Linked DNA regions of Homo sapiens: region 1 is linked to region 2. Evidence: promoter capture Hi-C in human tissues and cell types (Jung and others, 2019). All regions are on one chromosome and are shown on one strand. The core of a region is centred on a gene start or on the middle of the fragment in contact, and the rest is flanking DNA. Distances in the headings are between cores, read along the strand shown. Region 1 holds the start of RSPH6A (radial spoke head 6 homolog A). Region 2 overlaps CCDC61 (coiled-coil domain containing 61).

Region 1 (3,695 bases), core at 240-2,739, 190 kb after region 2:
TACCCCTTCCCCCCACCAGGTACCCTTTCCCCCCACCCAGGGTGTGCGGTGGGCGGCCCCCTGGGTCCCTCTGGTTGGTGGGGACTGGATGGAGGCGGACACAAGAAGGCCCTGCACTGCTGGGAGTTCTGGAGGGTTAGGGCCCCCGGACCTGAGGTGTGCAAATGGGGTCTCTGTGCCAGAGCTGCCCCCAGCGCCCCCTTCCTGCTCTCCACCCAGCAAGCTCACATCCCTAACTCCATCATGACCATCTTGGAGGCCAGCGGCAAGCAGGAGCCAGAGGCCAAGGAGGCGCCTGCGGGGCCCTTGGAGGAGGTGAGGGCCCTGCAGCCCACCCATCTGGATCCCCAGACTCCCACCCCCTACCCCAAGCCAGCAAGGCTCACCATGGCCTCCTCCTGACCCCGAGAGACTCAGGCCACCCCTGCCTCTGGGCCACCCGTCTCCCAGGGGATGCTCCTGCTGGGAGTTGGGGGTCTGGGGGACAACTGCCCCTTCCTCCCCATGCTCTTGGTGAAGAACTCAAAGACCACCTCAGGGTGGTTCCTTCTCTTTCCGGCCGTCCTCTGAGCCACCCACCTCTGAGCTTCTGTGTGGCCCTCCCTATCCCCAGGATGATCTGGAGCCCCTGACCTTGGCCCCGGCCCCAGCACCCCGGCCCCCTCAGGACCTCATCGGCCTGCGACTGGCCCAGGAGAAGGCCTTAAAGCGGCAGCTGGAGGAGGAACAGAAGCTGAAGCCGGGAGGAGTGGGAGCCCCCTCCTCTTCCTCCCCCTCTCCCTCTCCGTCGGCCCGGCCAGGCCCGCCCCCGTCTGAGGAAGCCATGGATTTCCGGGAGGAGGGGCCTGAGTGCGAGACCCCGGGCATCTTCATCAGCATGGATGACGACTCGGGGCTGACCGAGGCCGCGCTGTTGGACTCTAGTCTCGAGGGCCCCCTACCCAAGGTAGGGAGAGCAGCCTCCGCTGCGAAGGAAGAAGCCGGATCTGGGCCGGGGTGAAGGTGGGGGAGGAGGGGCCATCAGGGGGCAGGGCCTGAAGGGGAGCGTGGAGGTGACCGCGCCCTCCACCCGGCTGCCCTTTCCTTCCCCGGTCACCAGGAGACGGCAGCGGGCGGGCTGACCTTGAAGGAGGAGCGGAGCCCCCAGACCCTCGCACCTGTTGGAGAAGATGCTATGAAGACTCCCAGCCCGGCTGCCGAGGACGCCAGGGAACCCGAGGCCAAGGGGAACAGCTGACGGGGCTCGAGGGGGAAAGGGGGTGGGACAGGGACTCGGGGCTGGGGGACGGGGCGGGGCTTGACCTGCGGGTGCTTTGCCTTAAAAAGAAATAAAAGATGTGAACTTGGGCAAGTTACTGAAAAGAAAAAAAAAAAGGGATGGCGGGCCTGGGGCGCGGGTGCCGTCTCGAGTCTGGCGCGACGTCCACCGTGGGGCTGCGCGGGATCGGGAGTGCGCGCCCAGAGCCTGCGCGGAACCCACCCTGGCCCGCTCCCCGCGCCCTCCACGGGTAACGGCCCCCTCTCTCGGTGCTCAGAAACCGGCGGTGTCGACAGGTGGCTCTCGCTTGGCCTCCTTGTCTGCAAGCCTTTCTCCTAGAGATCTGTGCCTCCTGGCGAACCATGGGAGACCTGCCGCCCTACCCTGAGCGCCCTGCCCAGCAGCCTCCGGGCCGGAGGACTTCTCAGGCCTCCCAGAGGCGGCACAGTCGGGACCAAGCTCAGGCCCTGGCAGCGGACCCCGAGGAGAGGCAGCAGATACCTCCAGACGCCCAGCGAAACGCCCCTGGTTGGTCACAGAGGGGCAGCCTGTCCCAACAGGAGAACTTGCTGATGCCCCAGGTCTTCCAGGCTGAGGAAGCCCGGCTGGGTGGCATGGAGTACCCATCTGTGAACACGGGCTTTCCCTCAGAGTTCCAGCCTCAGCCTTACTCTGATGAAAGCAGGATGCAGGTCGCCGAGCTCACCACCAGCCTAATGCTGCAGCGGCTCCAGCAGGGCCAAAGCAGCCTGTTCCAGCAACTGGACCCCACCTTCCAGGAGCCCCCAGTCAACCCCTTGGGCCAGTTCAACCTCTACCAGACAGACCAGTTCTCTGAAGGTGCCCAGCACGGGCCTTACATAAGGGATGACCCTGCCCTTCAGTTCTTGCCCTCTGAGCTGGGCTTCCCACACTACAGTGCCCAGGTGCCTGAGCCCGAGCCTCTGGAGCTGGCCGTGCAGAACGCCAAGGCCTACCTGCTGCAGACCAGCATCAATTGCGACCTCAGCCTGTGAGCAGGGGCTAGGAGTGGGGCGGGTGGGGGACCCAGGCAGGGAGGGGCCCCACCCGAAGTGCCTGCCTCAGTCAGTCAGACAAGGGATCATCCCTCATGGAAAACCAGTGACTCTAATTCAGCTGAGTCGGAATCAATGCCAACAACAGCTAGCATTCACTTCCCAGACATGTGCTGGCACTGCACACACTCACCTAATTCTCACCGGAGATGAGCACATCAGCTCATCCTACTTTACAGAGGAGGAGACCGAGACACAGAGAAGTTGGGTCGCTTACCCAAAACTACACAGCTAGGATATGGCAGAGTCAGGATTCCAGAACACGTGATTTGGCTCCCCAAGCCCTCTTGCTTTTTTTTTCCCCCAGACATAGTCTCACCCTGTCACCCAGGCTGGAGCACAGTGGCGTGGTCTTGGCTTAGGGCAACCTCTCCTTCCCAAGTTCAAGTGATTCTTCTGCTTCAGCCTCCCGAGTAGTTGGGGTTACAGGCGCGCTCCACTTCACCCAGCTAATTTTTGTATTTTTAGTAGAGGCAAGATTTCACCATGTTGCCCAGGCTAGTCTCAAACTCGACCTCAAGTGATCCGCCCATCTCAGCCTCCCAAAGTGCTAGGATTGCAGGCATGAACCACCGTGCCCAGCCCTCCTGAGACCCTCTTATCCTGCAACTAAACCTCCCTGCCTGAGGAAGATACTTGCCAAAGCCACTTAGCTACAGTCACAAAACACTGCTCTCAGCCTCCATTAGATACCCAGGATGCTCTCATTCTAGGAGAGTGGACAAGAAACAGAAAAAGTGATAAACTGAAGCTAAGGACTCAGGTGAAAAATAAGGGAGGCTAAGAGGGCTAGGGAACACATGAAATAGTGGGGGTCCAACCAGGTGCGGTGGCTCACGCCTGTTATCCCAGCACTTGAGGAGGCCAAGACGGGCGGATCACCTGAGGTCAGGAGTTCGAGACCAGCCTTGCCAACATGGCGAAACCCTGTCTCTACTAAAAAATACAAAAATTATCAGGGCATGGTAGCATGGGCCTGTAATCCCAGCTCCTCGGGAGGTTGAGGCAGGAGAATCACTTGAACCCGGGCGGCAGAGGTTGCAGTGAGCCGAGATCGTGCCACTGCACTCCAGCCTGGGCAACAGAGCGAGACTCCATCTCAAAAAAATAAATTGTGTGGGTCAGTGAAGGCCTGTCCAAGGAGGTGACATTTGATTAGGGCCCTGAAGGAGTCGAGGGAGAGCATCTTGCAGATGACCGGAGGAAGAGTGAGCCAGGCAGAGCACACTGCAAATGCAAAGGCTCTGAGGCTTGCTGTTTTTGAGGAGCAGTAAGGAGGGGCTGGTGTGTCTGGAACCAAGGGAGGAAGAGGGAGAGCGGGAGAAATGAGGTTGATGAAGTAATGGTTCTTATTAAAGCAC
Region 2 (3,343 bases), core at 536-3,035:
CACAGCCTGAGACAGAGCAAACGCGCGCGCACACACACACACACACACACATACACACACACACAGCCTGAGAGCAGATCCTGAGGATAAATTTTGGCCTCCCCACTGCGGCCTTCCTCGGCCCAGCCGTACACAGGCGAGCTCCTCCAAAGACCGGCGGGGTTCCCCAGCCCCATGAGCTCCCATAAGGACTGGTCCTCCGGGTCAGCACTTAGCGCTCTGTCCTGGGCTTGCAGCCACCAACAGTGCAAACAGCTGGGGAAACAACAGAGGCTCGGCGCTGGCTGCCTGGATCTAAGGTCCAGCCTAGCCATATTACCCACTGTGTGACCTGCGCCAAGTTCCCTAACTTCTCTGGGCCTCTGTCAAACGGTGATAATAGCAGTGCCTACCTTGTAGGGTGGCTGTGAGGATAAAATGAATTTAATCATAAAGCACAGAGCAGCCCTGGCATACAGTTAAATGTTCAATAAACATTAGTTACTGGTAACATTATTACTAAAAATATTATTAGTCCTCCCCAACGAGCCAGGCCTCTTCCCGGTAGCGATCAAGCCCCAGATTCGTCTCCCCAACAGAACCAAGCACAAGGCAGGCATGAATATATATGCCAAAGGCCTTTGCTTCTTTCACTTCATTCATTCCCTTGTTCTCACCGCATTCCCACCTAACACAAGGACTTTGCCCAGGCTGTTCCCTCTGCCTACAACACTTCCCCAGCCCCTGGGCCTGACCCACCCTACACCCCAGTGGAGTCCTGTGACAGCCTCCCACAGCACAGGCTCCCTTTCCTGCCCTACTCATCTCCATCTGTAATGATATACTCAAGTGGTTATATACTTAGCACCCATCTCCCCCAGGGCTGGGCACTACGTGAGTGGCAGGGAGGGGCTAGCACAAAAGGTGCACCCCATGAAGGTGGATTCGCCTACATAGAGCTCGACCTCCCCCCAACCTTTGCACATGCTGCTCCCTTTGCCAAGAACACCCCTCCCGTACCAGGCAGGGTCAGGTACCCCACCCAGAGCCTTCACTGTCTGCAAACACATCTGCCTCCCTCCCTGGACTCAGAGTCCCAGGAGGGCAGTGCCAAGATAGTCTTGGTCACCACTATGTCCCCAGCACCACCCAGCACAAAGGTACAGAAGAGGGGCTCAGAGGCCGGGCGCAGTGGCTCATGCCTGTAATCCCAGCACTTTGGGAGGCCAACGCGGGCAGATCACTTGAGGCCAGGAGTTTGAGATCAGCCTGGCCAACATGGCAAAACCCCTTCTCTACTAAAAATACAAAAATTAGCCGGACATGGTGGCGCGTGCCTGTAATCCCAGCTACTTGGGAGGCTGAGACAGGAGAATCGCTTGAACCCGGGAGAAGGAAGCTGCAGTGAGCCAAGATCGCACCACTGCACTCCAGCCTGGGCAACAGAGTGAGACTCTTGTCTCAAAAAAAAAAGAATACGTGGTGGGCGAAGGACAGTCATCCTCCCCACAGGACCGAGCATGGGCCCCGCGGTGCATGATGGGAGGGCCCCCACCCGCCCCAGCTGCCCACCCCTCCAAGACTCACTGCTCCCGCAGATGCCAGATCTCATTCTCCCGGGTGTCCCGAGTGTTCTGGCCATCCAGCCCTTGCAGGCGGCCCAGTTCCTCCTTCAGTGACCGGATGATGCCCTGCAGAACCACGGGGTCTGGCTTGCCCTGGTACGGGAGGGGCAGCGGGTAGTGAATCCTGAGGAGGGAGGATTAAAACCGTGGCATCTCAGAGGCCAAGAATGCACCTGAGGGTAAACAGCAGCCTCTGAGAGCCACAGAGTACGAAAACACACAATTCCAAAAACTGCACTGTCCTAGAGGCTTATGAGCACATCCTCAAGGCCCCTCCCTGTACCCGGACCCCTTGTTCCAGTCACCACCTGTGAAAGCCTCTTATATAACAATTTGGGGACCACTGGGATTGGCAGCCCTGGTGTAGTCTGGGGGAACTTCCTTGTCACCCACTGCTGATGAAGGGAATGCTGGTATCATGTTACTTGCAGCCAAACGCAATCCTAATTCAGATGCCACAGCGGGGCATTCTGGTTGGCCTGGCCTGGGTGACCCTGGCTTGGCTGGGGAAAGGTGAGCCATTGTGATTAACGGCCCCATGAGATGCTATTCACAGAGGATTGGTAACTTTCCACTAAGAAATCCAGTGGCTACTAACACATGGGACAGACACGGTCACCTAGCTACACAACTGCCATTCCCAACTCTCTTGCTACCCTCCCCCTATAAAGGCTAGAAAGCCAGATATTCATTTTCCCAGCATCCCTTGCATGTGACCACCTCTGGCCACATATTACAGGAAATCTGTTGGGAGTCTTCTGGGAACACTTTTTTTTTTCCTGATAAAAACAGCAAAGGCAATTAACAAACTCAGCCCTGTCCCTCTTCTTCCTGCCTTGATATAGATGCAATGTCTGGAGGATCCAGCAGCTATTTTGTGGCCATGAAGAGATAAAGATGAAGTCAAAAGGCCAAGCCGGGCGTGGTGGCTCATGCCTGTAATCCCAGTACTTTTGAGAGGCTGAGGCAGGAGGATCACTTGAGGCCAGGAGTTCAAGACCAGCCTGGGCAACATGACAAAACCCCGTCTCTACTAAAAATACAAAAATTAGCCAGGCGTGGTTGTGGGTGCCTGTAGTCCCAGCTACTCTGGAGGCTGAGGCACAAGAATTGCTTGAACCTGGGAGGGAGAGGTTGCGGTGAGCCAAGATCACACCACTGCACTCCAGCCTGGATGAGACAGTGAGACTCCATCTCAAAAAAAAAAAAAGCCAACACATTAACGACAGTAAAAGGAAAAAAATAAAAAAGAAAGAGCTTGAGTCCCTAGTGGAACTGTTAAACAGGTGGCAGACACCTACCTAGACATCTTGTTACGTGACGTATTATTTGTTTGATGTATTGTTTGTTTAGGGCACTGGTGATGGTTATTCTGCTACTTGTAGCCAAACACAATACTAAATGATACAAACCCCAACAGGGAAGATTCCCAAGGCAAGGCTTAACCAATATCACCTTGCCTGGGTGCCAGGGGTTCCTAAGGCCTACCCACATCCTCTCCCACCCCGCCCACCAGCCTGGCCCTGGAGCCAGACCCTTCTCCCCACCTGTCAAACTCCACGGAGTAGATGAGGATCAGGTAGCGCTTGGAGTTGAGCTGGGCCGACCTGGGGGCCAAGGAGCCTGGGCGGCCCCCCATCTTGCGGTTCCGCAGGGACTCCAGGTCTGTGTAGGTCAGCAGGTCCAGGGTGACTGACTCACTACTCTGTCAGGAGAGGAGAGGAGGAGCTGCCACAGCA

What was found. Contacts are between HindIII fragments. The study calls those that stand out against the background at their distance.
Region 1: a contact is called between the fragment with the promoter of RSPH6A here and a fragment that was not itself captured in region 2, in 1 of the 25 tissues and cell types used here (hippocampus).

Annotation. Positions count from the first base shown.
Region 1 is chr19:45,813,102-45,816,796 of GRCh38, reverse strand. RSPH6A (radial spoke head 6 homolog A) reads left to right here and starts at 1,489. Exons shown (of 6, transcript NM_030785.4): 1 at 1,489-2,270. The coding sequence starts at 1,621. It overlaps SYMPK (symplekin scaffold protein), which reads left to right. Exons shown (of 27, transcript NM_004819.3): 25 at 220-315; 26 at 614-946; 27 at 1,100-1,387. The coding sequence ends at 1,237. The HindIII fragment of the contact is 35,300 bases long and covers 1-3,695 here.
Region 2 is chr19:46,006,525-46,009,867 of GRCh38, reverse strand. CCDC61 (coiled-coil domain containing 61) reads right to left here. Exons shown (of 14, transcript NM_001267723.2): 4 at 3,152-3,309; 5 at 1,567-1,728. Among named protein-coding and RNA genes, the nearest start is that of MIR769, 11 kb to the left of the region's middle. The HindIII fragment of the contact is 8,240 bases long and covers 1-3,343 here.